2 separate regions of the Homo sapiens genome follow, and region 2 is linked to region 1. The links are contacts of gene promoters, found by promoter capture Hi-C in human tissues and cell types (Jung and others, 2019). All regions are on one chromosome and are shown on one strand. Each heading gives the region's core, a stretch centred on a gene start or on the middle of the fragment in contact. The rest is flanking DNA. Distances are from core to core; before and after follow the strand shown. Region 1 holds the start of ZSCAN4 (zinc finger and SCAN domain containing 4). Region 2 overlaps ZNF606 (zinc finger protein 606).

Evidence for each region. Contacts are between HindIII fragments. The study calls those that stand out against the background at their distance.
Region 2: a fragment that was not itself captured here is called in contact with the fragment with the promoter of ZSCAN4 in region 1 in 1 of the 25 tissues and cell types used here (pancreas).

The regions. Positions count from the first base shown.
Region 1 is chr19:57,664,687-57,671,465 of GRCh38, forward strand. ZSCAN4 (zinc finger and SCAN domain containing 4) reads left to right here and starts at 4,249. Exons shown (of 5, transcript NM_152677.4): 1 at 4,249-4,517; 2 at 5,559-5,881. It also overlaps the pseudogene TPRG1LP1. The HindIII fragment of the contact is 8,369 bases long and covers 851-6,779 here.
Region 2 is chr19:57,977,559-57,984,337 of GRCh38, forward strand. It overlaps ZNF606 (zinc finger protein 606), which reads right to left. Exons shown (of 7, transcript NM_001348022.3): 7 at 1-2,721. The coding sequence ends at 743. Among named protein-coding and RNA genes, the nearest start is that of C19orf18, 6.4 kb to the left of the region's middle. The HindIII fragment of the contact is 3,581 bases long and covers 1,025-4,605 here.

The DNA of each region.
Region 1 (6,779 bases), core at 2,999-5,498:
AACAAGCGAGAAGGTTTTGGGATTCGAATTCAGTGGGGCAAGCGAAGTCGCCTTTCCTTCTTAAACAGATGGAATCCCTGGTCCACAAACGTACCCTGTGCCAATTTCATACAACACGCTATGGCTGCTGCGGATGAGAACACAGCAACTCTGCCAGATGAAAAGCTTCAAGGCTCTGTGAATCCAAGGTCAAAAACGCCAAAAAGGAAAGTCCTTTTCCAGGACAAGCGCACGCGTGCTGGTCGTGGAGCGCCCCCTCCTCATGGAGACCGGCCTGGGATTGATGTCCTTCATTAACAATGAGGCTAAACTGGGCTATTCCATGACTGACCAGGGGCAAAATAGGCTTTTAGCCAGCGGCATTCTGGGAGCTCTCCCCACTAAGAAGGCCAAGGGATGTGGGGTCTGAGAGCCTGGCAGTCCTCATGCAAAGCCGCTGCTGGCTGGAAGCATAGGGGTCTTTTACCTTTTGGGATCTCTGCACGATTAGAATAGTAAAGTGGATAGTAATTGCATATTGCACTCTGCTAATGCAAGCTACAGACAAAAGCAAAAAGAATCTAGCTGCCACTGTGCTGCTAGGATTCCATTTTCTGTAACTTCAGTTCTGATACTTTTCCTGGAGTGTATCTACTTGGCTTCTGGCGGTTCTTCCCATCCCAGCCACTCCAGCAGGCTAAATCCCGCAGCACACCCCTTACCATTTGTGTAGGCTGCTAAATACAGGGAGGCACCTGGTATCTCCAGTGTCTGCAGACACAAATATGTTTACACTTGGTGTCAAATTTTGTATTTTAAATTTTAATACTTTTTTTTTTAAAGCTCATACAAAAGCAGCCAGCAGACAAGTTCACTGACATCAGTCTGCACCTGTCAGCTCCTGGGTGAATCATTGTTCTTTTGTAAATGTGTGTTTGACCTAAAGTCACCCTTTTTCTAAAATTAATCCAAGGCCGGGCGCGGTGGCTCACTCCTGTAATCCCAACACTTTGGGAGGCTGAGGCGGGTGGATCACCAGATCAGGAGTTCGAGACCAGCCTGACCAAAATGGAGAAACCCCATCTCTACTAAAAATACAAAATAAGCTGGGCAGCCCACGTCAGTAATCCCAGCTACTCCGGAGGCTGAGGCAGGAGAATTGCTTGAACCCGGGAGGTGGAGGTTGTGGTAAACCGAGATCGTGCCACTGCACTCCAGCCTGGGCAACAAGAGTGAAACTCCGTCTCAATAATAATACTGATACTTAAAATATCTTTGCGAGGCCCAAGTAGGTTTACAGAAAATCATCTTAGGACAATTTTTTAATTTGAGAAAGTCACTTTGGCAGTTCTTTGCACACAATTTTGACAAGTGTATGTATTATAAGTTGTATTGTATTCATATTTAAAAGGAAATTGGGTAGTTTGCCTTTTGAAGAATGCGCTTTTTAAAAAGGAACCATATCAGATCCTTATGAAGCAGCCGATGCCTGCCATGGTTCCTACAGGTCCTGTACAGACTCGGGGCTTTGTCCAAGTCTCCACTAAACATGCTAAGCTTCGATGCGCCCTGGAGAATTTCCACGGGGTGATCCACGCACCTCCATGAGATCCTGCAGCTTGCTTGTATGACTGGAAGCATTGGATAAGCTTCGCGTGCTGGCTCTCCAGTTCTTTCCTTCTCTTTACGACTGTTGTAGCTTTTAGCTAATGGAGTGGTGCGGTCCAAGTGCGGCCACCTACGGGAGGTGCAGGGCTGCCTCGGAAGCTGGCAGGGGACCCCAGTCTTTGCGTTCATAAAGACATTTAGAACCGGATGAATGTTGTTCCTTTTTTGAAGTTGTTATTAAAGTAGGTGCAACAACCAAAAATCAATAAATAATAAATAAATTGACTAAATATTTTTTCTCAAAAAAAAAAAAAAAAGAAAAGAAAGTCACCAGGTGTGGTGGCTCACGCCTGTAATCCCAGCACCTGGGGAGGCTGAGGTGGGCGGATCACCTGAGATCAGGAGTTTGAGACTATCCTGGCCAACATGGTGAAACCCCGTCTCTACTAAAATACAAAAATTAGCCGGGTGTGGTGGCGCATGCCTTTAATCACAGCTACTCTGGGTGCGGAAGTTGCAGTGAGCCAAGATCGTGCCACTGCACTCCAGCCTGGGCGACAGAGCAAGACTTTGTCTCGAAAAAAATAGAAAGTTAACAGTTTTGTTTATTTTCCTACCAGGTTTTTATTATTATTATTATTATTCTAATTGAAATCACTGTTTCCTACATACTGAGGCGGATTGGCTTTGTCTTCTTGGAAACAAAGGTTATTTTCCTCACTCACACTGGAGCGGGGATACTCACCAGACACAAGTTGAGATGATGCTGGATGTAAACGGGTCATCTATTTTTACCAAAGGCAGCACTACCTGCCTTCCCAATTGATCAGAAAAGCATTTGATAGTTGTCTTTGTAATATCCTTATTTGATTAAATTACTATGTGGATTTCACATTTATTTTTATTGTTTTGTGCCTGTTTATTCTATGCCTAAGTTGGGGTATCACCAGGTCATTTCCTCCACCATCTGTGTTTCCCCAAGGATAAATCCTCCTGCTCATGCCCTTCACTCCTCCATTAGCCCATTCCCTAGAAAGCTGCTGGTTTTACACAGTGGCTGTGTGTCTTTGCCTTCTTAATGTAGCATTCAGAGTCCCACTCTGGAGCCAGGTATCAAATCCTAGCCCAGCCACTTACAGGCTATGTAGCACTGGCCAAGGTACTGAACTTCTCTGTGCCTCTGTTATTTTGATGTTAAAATGGAGTTATTTAGGATCTACTTTACAGGACTGTTGTGATGGAAATGGGTTAACATACAGAAAGCACTGAGAACAGAGTCAAATATGCCCTGACTGCTTAAAGGTTAGTTATTATGATCCCTGATGCTATTACTACTCTTACTGATATCATCGTGCCTCAGGTCTAACTGCTCCCAGAGTTACACACCAGCATGTCCAACAGCTGGCTGTATATCTGAACTCAAAAATCCAATAACCTCCTCCAAACAGAAATTGCCAGCTTTTCCCCAAACCTTTTCCTTACAGCTCCTTACAGAGCTCAAGGAACTCCTTGAGACTGCAGAAGCAGACAGGAAATGCTTTCAACCCACCACAAATTAACAACTGGCCTCCAGTGGTACTCACATTGTCTACATTTTTCATTGTTTTTTTTTTGTTTGTTTTTTGTTTGTTTGTTTGTTTGTTTTTGAGACAGAGTCTCACTCTGTCGCCCAGGCTGGAGAGCAGTGGTGCGATCTTGGCTCACTGCAACCTCGGCCTCCCAGGTTCAAGTGATTCTCCTGCCTCAGGCTCCCGAGTACTTGGGATTACAGGTGCCTGCCACCATGCCTGGCTAATTTTTGTATTTTTTTAGTAGAGACGAGGTTTCATCATGTTGGCCAGGCTGGTCTCAAACTCCTGACCTCAGGTGATCCACCCGCCTCGGCCTCCCAAAGTGCTGGGATTACAGGCATGAGCCACTGCGCCCAGCCCATTTTTCATTGTTGTAGCAGAGAAGTATCCCTGCTTCCATCAAGAGCCAATTTTCCTGTCACAGTTGGTTTAATGACATAGTTGGTGACAGGACCTAAACCACCAGTGGAAAATTGGCTCTTGATGGGAGCAGGGATACTTCTCTGTATGGAGTATATGTGGATGAAACTCCTTGGAGAAATGGACTAGTACACAGTCTTATAATGTGAGGATTCAGAACATAATTCCTAATGTGGGGAAGTCAAGCAGACATTTCATCAGTGGAGTACCAGGAGATTCAAACTCTGTACCCAACAGTGATAGGGGGACAATCTAAGCCCCAAGAGGCTGCATGCCTGATGGAGCAGATGAAACACATGGCTGTAATTAGCTCCCACCCCTTCGATACGTTCTCAACTCCACCAAAGCCTCAGCCTGTATGAGGGTGGAAAGTGGGGAGGGAGAGTGCAGGGAAGAAGGCACAGCTTCCACCACACTAGGTGACCAGGCGCTTCTCACCATTTTAACTCCTCCATCTCTCTCAAGCCTCATGTTAAGTCTATCAAACATCATATGCTTTCTCAATATAAAATATGCACCAATTTCTCCCTTTCCACTGATATAATCCTAGTCTCAACCCCTGTCATCTTTTTGATGGATTAGGAATGCCTTCTCTGGGTCCCGGGCCCCCTCTGTTTCACCAGCCTGGAATTGGCACAGGAGTCACAGCATTAGCCTTGCCCTCTGCCACCCTTGTAATTCATAAATCTCTGAAAACTTAAAAGTTTGAGCAAAAGTTTGTCATGTTTCTATGAGTAATTTATAATAAAACTTGATCAGAATTTGTGAGACTAACGTTTGTCTTTATATTTTCCTTTTTTTTTTTTTTTTTTTTGAGACACAGTCTCGCTCTGTCGTCCAGGCTGGAGTGCCGTGGCGTAATCTCGGCTCACTGCAACCTCTGCCTCCTGGATTCAAACAATTCTTCTGCCTCAGCCTCCTGAGTAGCTGGGATTACAGGTGCATGCTACCACGCCCAGATAATTTTTGTATTTTTAATAGAAACCGGGTTTAACCATGTTGGTCAGGCTGGTCTCAAACTCCTGACCTCATGATCCACCTGCCTCGGCCTCCCAAAGTGCTGGGATTACAGGCGCGAGCCACCACACCCAGCCTGTCTTTATATTTTCATTTAATGTGGACCTTGTTACATTTTACCGCAGATTTTGTATTTTTGTGTGTGTTTGTTTGTTTGTTGGTTTTTGAGACAGTCTACCTCTGTCGCCCAGGCTGCAGTGCAGTGGCACAATTTCAGCTCACTGCAACCTCCGCCTCTGTGGTTCAAACAATTCTTCTGCTCAGCCTCCTGAATAGCTGGGACTACAGGCACGCGCCACTACGCCTGGCTAATTTTTGCATTTTTAGTAGAGATGGGGTTTCACCATATTGGCCAGGCTGGTCTCGAACTCTTGACCTCGTGATCCGCCCACCTCGGCCTCCAAAAGTGCTGGGATTACAGGCATGGTTTTTTTTTTGTTCGTTTTGTTTTGTTTTTTTTTTAGAGACTTGGTCTCCTTCCATTTCCCAGGCCAGAGTTCAGTAGGGCGGTCATAATCCACTGTAGCCATGAACTCCCTGGCTCAAACAAGCTACACAGACATGCCACCATGCCTGGCTAACATTTTTAACATTATTTTTGGTAGAGACAGGGTCTTGCTTTGTTGCTCAGGCTAGGGATTCACAGAGTCTTGCTCTGTCTCCCAGGCTGGAATGCAGTGGCGCAATCTTGGCTCACTCTAGCCTCTGCCTCCCAGGTTCAAGTAATTCTCCTGCCTCAGCCTCCCAAGTAGCTGGGATTACAGGTGCCCACCACCATGCCCGGCTAATTTTTGTATTTTTAGTAGAGAAAGGGTTTCACCATGTTGGCCAGGCTGGTCTTGAACTCCTGATCTCAGGTGATCTGCCTGCCTCAGCCTCCCAAAGTGCTGAGATTACAGGTGTGAGCCACTGCACCTAGCCTGCAGAAATATTAATGTGTTTGTTTATGACCTGTTGACCCAGGACCAGTGATGGTATAGAACACTGTATTAGAGACATGGAGCTGGGGCTGGATGAAGATTCCATCAGTAATTCAATCAACAGACAAGTGTTATCCAATCACGTCTTTAAATCAATCACTGACATGGAGCTGGGGCTGGATGAAGATTCCATCAGTAATTCAATCAACAGACAAGTGTTATCCAATCACGTCTTTAAATCAATCACTGATCCCAGCCCCTATAAAAGGGAGCAGCCTTAGGAGGCACATCAGATAAACCCAGTGTGGAAAGCTAGTCACACATCAGCTCAGTGTTCGGCCCGGGATTACCCAGTCAACCAAGGAGGTAAGCTTCCATAATGGAAGGAAAATTTTGTGCCTTTGAGTGTGTATACATTTTGTGTCTTTGAGTGTGTATACATAATTTTGTGTCTTTGAGTGTGTATACATGTGTATGTAGGCATAGCTATTTCAGGAAAATTCCTAACTACAGAGATATGGGGGTCTCCCAGGTGTAGGGAATGGTCTTTTGTTACAACAGCTCTGACCCAAAAGGGCTTGATGTTGTGAACTCTGTATAAAGGCCTGGTGTGACTGAAGATTTTTCTTCAAAAAGTCTATCGTATGACTTTATGTTCTAGTAATTCTTTTTTTTTTTTCGAGACAAGATCTCTATCACCCAGGCTAAAGTTTAGTAGCCCCAATCACAGCTCACTGCAGCTTCAGCCTCCCCAGGCTCAAGTGATCCTTCCACCTTAGCTTCCTGAGCAGCTGGGACCACAGGCGCACACCACCACACCAGGTTAATTTTTCTATTTTTTGTAGAGGCAGGATTTTGCCATGTTGCCCAGTGTGGTCTCAAACTCCTGGCCTCCAGTGATTTGCCCACTTTCAGCCTCCAAAAGTGCTGGGATTACAGATGTGAGCCACTGTGCCCAGCTTAGTAATTCCTTTGTATTGCATTATATGAAATATGTAGCTGGGTGTCATTAGAGATCATAAAGCCCAGGATACAGACCCAGACCTGACGGGTAGCATGCCTGCGTCACAGTTTGTAATTGCCAGACTCCAGATTAGAGCTCCGGTAGCCTTGTTTTGAATTCCCAGGTTCTGGGAAATAAGCCATAATACTTTGCAGTCTTGTCTATGTGGGACGGAGTGCATGTCTCCAAGTGTGAACATGTGGTCTGTGTGTCATAGGGGAGAAAGGGTGGGTAATCCAAAAAGAGAACTTGGAGGGAAGT
Region 2 (6,779 bases), core at 1,565-4,064, 310 kb after region 1:
ATTGCCTAAAACAAATTACAAACTAATTGCCCAACAATGCAGTGATGAGTAACAATGGACGCTGACACACTGGGCTAAGGATCACTTTCTGTCCAGCAACATCAGTCTCACACTCCTAGGCAATAACTTTTCTACCGTTAGTCATCTCATTCATTAATTTTCTCTAAGGAGGTTAATCAACAGTAAATACCCCATTCAATACTATTATTTTTCTTACATTCAGATTTAGCACTTCATATTCTACTCCTGGGCACCCAGACCCTCCCCTTATAACAACAAAATCTGTATTTCTACAATTATGCACAAAATGTTATTGTAGAGTTTTCCATCCAGTACTCCAGCTTGATGCAAAACAGTGTATTTCCAGTCAAAAACTTTTCTCTGCATAAGGTTTTTCCCTTAGCAATTCACACCAATCTACAATTGGTGAGAGCTCTTGCTAAAAGATGCCTCATTCCCCACAGTCATGGTCCTCAAGTATGAATTACTGGTAGACCATAAGGGGAGTTTAGAGTTTCCTTCATTGTTAATTATCTGATTTTGAGTAAGGGCTAAATAACTGCTGAAAGCTTTTCCCTATTCTTTTCCTTCATGGGGTTTCTTCTAAGATGATATTTTCTAGTAAATAATGTGGGAGAAGTCTTACTGAACTCTTAATGAAAAATGTCCCCTCTTGATTATGTTTATAGGGTTTTCCTCAATGTGTTGTCAAATGTACAAGAAACGAAAAACTCGCATAAATTCAATTCAGTTTCTCTTCACTGTGATTTCTCTGGTGTTGAAGTAGGGCTGAGTGACCACTAAAGGCTTTTCCACATTCACTGCATATAAAGCGTTTCTCTCCACTATGCATTCTCTGATGAATAATAAGGGAAGAATTCTTACAAAATGCTTTTTCACAATGATTACATTTGTAGGGCTTTTCTCCAGTATGGTTTCTTAGGTGTACAATAAGGGATGAACTCTCATTAAATGCTTTCCCACATTCATTACACCTGTATGGTTTCTCTCCAGTATGAGTTCTCCGGTGTGCAATGAGGTGAGAACTACAGTTAAAGGATCTTTCACACTGATTACATTTATAGGGTTTCTCACCAGTGTGAATTCTCCGATGAGCAACAAGGTGACAGCTCTGACTGAAGGATTTTCCACATTTATTGCATTCATAGGGTTTTTCTCCAGTATGAGTCCTTTGATGTCTAACAAGGTGAGCCATCTGGCTACAGGATTTTCCACATTTATTACATTCATAGGGCTTAATTCCAGAATGAATTATCTCATGTTTAGTGAGGGCTGAGCGTTCTCTGAATGCTTTGCCACATTCCTGACAGTTATATGGTTTCTCTCCCGTGTGAGTTCTCTGATGGGCAATAAGATGGGAGCTCCAGCTGAAGGATTTTCCACATTCAGTACATTTATATGGTTTTGCTCCAGAATGAGTTCTTTCATGTTTACTAAGGGCTGAGTAGTCCCTAAAAGCTTTTTCACATTCATCACATTTAAAGGGTTTCTCTCCAGTATGCATTCTCATATGGGCAATAAGATGGGAGCTCCAGCTGAATGATTTCCCACATTCAGTACATTCAAAAGGTTTCTCTCCTGTATGAGTCCTCTGATGTCCAATAAGATGAGAGTTCCAGTTGAAAGATTTCCCACACTCATTACAAACATAAGGTTTTTCTCCTGTATGAATTCTCTTATGTACAATAAGATGAGAATTCCAGCTGAAGGCTTTTCCACATTTATTACATTCATAGGGTTTTATTCCAGTGTGAGTCCGTTCATGTTTCGTAAGGGCTGAGCGATTCCTAAAAACTTTTCCACATTTATCACATTCATAGGGTTTTTCTCCAGTATGAGTTTTCTTATGTTGAATAAGGTAAGAGCTCCAGATGAAAGACGTCCCACATTCATTGTAGTCATAGGGTTTCTCTGCAGTGTAAGTGCTTGTATGTTGAGTAAGGAAAGAGTCATACCCAAAGACTTTCTCCCATTCATTGTATTTATACGCTTTCTCTACAGTACCAATTTTTTGATGTTCCATAAAGGATGAGAAATAAAAGATATTCTCATATTCTTTGTAATTATACTGGTTTTCTCCAACATGAAGCCTTGGGTGTTCATTAAATGATGGGCTCTGGTTAAAGATTTGATGGCATTCCTTATATTCATAGAGTTTTTCTCCTGTGTGAATTCCTTTATGATCACCAAAATGTATTATATGATTGAAAGATTTAACAGCATCAGTACATTTGAAAAGATTATCTCCAGTTTGTATTCTTGCAGGGTAAATAGGTTGAATGGACTGATAAACAGTTTTGTCATAATCATTATTTTCACAGGTAACCTTATCTGCATACATTATGGCTGAGTCACATCTCCAACTTTGAGCATGTGTATCAGGCTTATAGAAATGTTCTATCTGAGAAACTCTCTGAGATGGAACAAAGTTTAAGTTCTGGCTAAACTCTGCCCCAAGTCCACAGAATTCAGAGCTTCTCTGGGATAGTACTTGCTTTTGCATGAAGACCATCTGCCTCATAGCTGTACTCTGGTTCATGTGGTACATTTCTAATTGGTCTTTACATCCCAAAACTTCTAACCTGGAGAACCAAGGATCATCCCATATATATCTTTCCAACTTCATGCCATGGGATTGTTCTTCCTCAAAAATGCTCTGTGCTGGGATCAATGCTTTGCTTTCAAGATTTCTCACCCATTCTGAAACAGACAGAAAAAAAGCTATGAGAGCATAGAGAAAGACATTAGAATAAAGTGGGAATGGTGAGATTTACTGTCCATATTATCAAAAACACTAGTATAAATTTGTTTTCAAGTCCAGGCTTAGAACTCAGAGAAAGATCATAATAGGGAAAAGAATAGTGAAAAGTAAACAACAGTTAACCAGAATACAAAGTGTGTACTGAAAACTAATGAAACCATTTAAAAGTACTTTCCATGAAAAGGAAGACCAGTATAAGAATGTGCAAGAAAGAGGCCGGACGAGGTGGCTACGCCTGTAATCCCAGCACTTTGGGAGGCCGAGGCGGGCGGATCATGAGGTCAGGAGATCAAGACCATCCTGGCTAACACAGTGAAACCCTGTCTCTACTAAAAATACAAAAAATTAGCCAGGTGTGGTGGCGGGTGCCTGTAGTCCCAGCTGCTCAGGAGGCTGAGGCAGGAGAATGGCATGAACCCGGGAGGCAGAGCTTGCAGTGAGCCAAGATCGCGCCACTGCACTTCAGCCTGAGCGACAGAGCGATACACCGTCTCAAAAAAAAAAAAAAAAAAAATGTGCAAGAAAGAGTTAACTCTGCAGGCCTGACGTGCTCAAACCTTGCAAAGGTAGCCTGTTTCCTAACTGGCCCTTAGCCAACTCCTAGGAATTAAGATCTTGGAATGTTCTAACTAGTAAGAGTGTTTTGCATGCTCAAGGTATTGAAGCACATTTACTTTTAACTTATTTAGATATGTGTGCAAACAATGTCATTCATAGTGATCACCTGCTTTCCCTCAGGGTGGTCTGGAGTTTCAGCGATGGCAGTGAGTCACGCAGGCACTGTGTGCCTGGATGAGCAACCTCTCAATAAACACACTGGACTCCTAGACTCAGGCAAGTTTCCTAGTAGAAATTTCGCACGTGTTGTCACAACTCCTTGCTTGAGGAATTAAGTGTGCCCCATGTACGCTACTGGAAGCTTGCACCTGGTCTAACCTCATGCACCTTTTTCCTTTGCTGATGTTGCTTTGTATCCTTTCACTGTAATACACCATAATCCTGAGTATAATGACTTTTGAGTCCTATAAGTACTCATAGTGAATCAGTGAACCTGGAGGTGGTCTTGAAGACCCCTGACAAAAGGACCCAGTGAATGTTATTAAGGTTAAAAAAGAAAAAAAAAGAATAAAGCCTTTCATCTTAACAAAAGTTAGGTAGATGAGCACACAAGGCCTTTAGCAAGTAATATTTACATCATGAGTGCTCTCACTTCTGTGTTATAATGTCCTTCTACTCCCATATCTTGACAAGTGCAGAAAAAAGGAGGAGAGGGGTGTTTAGAGAGTATCACCAAGCGAGGCTTCAAGCCAGGATGTTATCTATGACAAAATGCTTTGTTTCCTATGTCACAGAATCCAGTCAATCACACAAGATCCACCAACCCAAAGGGCAAACATCACCAGAGTTTATGGATACCCCTAAAGTTACACTTCTATCCACCACAGAATATTTTTAGAGCAATGATAGATGGACTAGGAAGACAGCATAGTGTGAAAAAACAGACACAGGAGTTACAGTCTGCTAATCTGTATGTGAACAATGGCCCTGCTGCTATCCTTAGAGAGCTTTTCTGATGACTAAAGTCGAGACTCAGAATCCAGCCAAACTCCTGGCAAGTTTAATACACAGGAACTGCCTATTATCACTGCTTAAGTATCAATCCTCTAACAACCAAAGGAGGCTATATTAGTTTCTTTCTGCTATTGTAACAAATTACCACACATTTAGTAACTTAAGGTAACACAAATTTATGATCTTTCCGTTCTGGAAGTCAGAAGTCCAAAACGGCTTTCACTGGGCTAAAATGGAGTTATTGGCCGGGTTGTGCTCCCTCCAGAAGCTCTAAGGAATCCACCATATCCTTGCCCTTTCCATCTTCTAGAAGCTGCCCCAATTCCTTGGCTCGCAGCTCCTTCCTCCATCTGCAAAGCTCATCACTCCAACCTCTGCTTCTGTCATCACATCCTCTCCCATGTCTCTGACCCTCCCACCACAATCTTATAAAAGGACCCTTGTGAGTACATTTAGAATCCACTCAGACAATCCAGGATAATCTCCCCACAGCAAGATCCTTAATTTACTCTCATCTGAAGGTCCCTTTTGCCATACAAGGTGCCCCATTCACAAATTCTGGAGATTAGGATGCAGATATCTTTGTGGGGGAAGTCATTATCCAGATTGCTACAGGGTCTAAAGCCCCAGGCAGGTCCCAACAAGAACTAGACCTTGCCCTCTCTCTCTGCTTCTTTTTTTCTCTTTACTATATGTAATTTCCCCCCTTTTACCACCCAAGTCCATTATTTTTTGTTTAATTTTTTTGAGACAGGGTCTCACTCAGGCAGGAGTGCAGTGGTACCGTCATAGCTCACTGTAATCTCAAATTACTGGGCTCAGGCAATCCTCCCACCTCAGCCTTCCGAGTAACAGGACTACAGGCATGAATCCTGTATATACAACCATGCCTGGCTAAATGTTTTTAAATTTTTTATAGTGACAGGGTCCCGCCATGTTGCCCAGGATGGTCTCAAATTCCTGGGCTCAAATAATCCTCCCACCTTGGCCTCCCAAAGCACTGGGATTACAAATGTGAACCCCCATCCCTGGCCCCCACGACCATTATAACAGAGGTTCTACTCTGCACAACTGGCATTTATTATCAATTTCAAGCTCAGCTCTTAAAAGTTACTGAATTATCTTCATATAGATTTTTAAATCCTTCCAGTAAAAGCTTTTTACAAATGGAAGCTGACCAATTCCCTGACCAAATGAAAGACCAACTGAAAGACCAAATGAACAGTTCTTGTCCAACTTTATACTCACTCAGTACTTGTAGTCTACTGAGTTTCCAGCACCAGAGACAAGGCAAGAAAGTACGGTCTCCCTGGAAGTCAGAATCTATGTGAAGAGAGATCCTACCAAACAGTGATGAATATACATGAAATATCACTCTGAGGTCGGGCATGGTAGCTCACGCCTGTAATCCCAGCACTTTGGGAAGCTGAGGCGGGTGGATTACCTGAGGTCAGGAGTTCAGGACCAGCCTGGCCAGCATGGTGAAACCCCGTCTCTACTAAAAAAATACAAAAAATTAGCCGGGCATAGTGGCAGGCGCTTGTAATGCCAGCTACTCGGGAGGCTGAGACAGGAGAATTGCTTGAACCCGGGAGGTGGAGGTTGCAGTGAGCCAAGACCACACCATTGCACTCCAGCCTGGGCAACAAGGGCAAAACTCCGTCTCAAAAAAAAAAAAAGAAAAGAAAAAGAAATATCACTCTGAGATGGTGGGGTTATAGAACAGATGCTAAGTGGGTGGGAGATCAAAAAAGGACATCAGCACTAACTGAAGTGATCGAGGATGGTTCACACAAGAGAAACAACATGAGCTCAGCCTTGAAGCACGACCTGGGTACAGACTGACTAGTCACTCAGCATGAGCAGAGGCATGCATGGCGTGACCAGTGTGTGAGGAGGAAGATAAGGATACCTGCTGAATAAAACTCCAGGAGCTATTCAGGAAATGAGAGAAACAATAGAAAAAATAGAAGGTTTTGAAATCCAGTTGTTTTGTTACAAGGCAATTAGAATCACTGTAGGTTTACTGACAGGGATCTCATAATCAAAGATTTCAGGGATATAAATCTAGAAATAGTACCTGAGGTGGCTAATAACAAGTGAGAATTTCCTCATCAACTTGGGCTGGAATTTTACGAGAAAGGGGCCGGACTGTGAGAGTGATGATGGAAGCTGAATGACGTAACTAACATTTCAGAGGAAGAAAATCTTGGGAGTTAGAAGAGAGATTACTTCTTGGAGAGGAAAGAGCTCGAAGTCAAGATGACTTCTCAATCTCCAGCTTAGGGGACATGCAGAAATGCACCTCAGGAAGATGGGAGAACATCTAGAAAGTAGAGACAAGATTACTGGTTCTATCGGCTGTGATCAAGGAGACAGGTGAGATGCTTTGTAAAATGGGAGAAGTGTAAGGACAGAGGTGCTG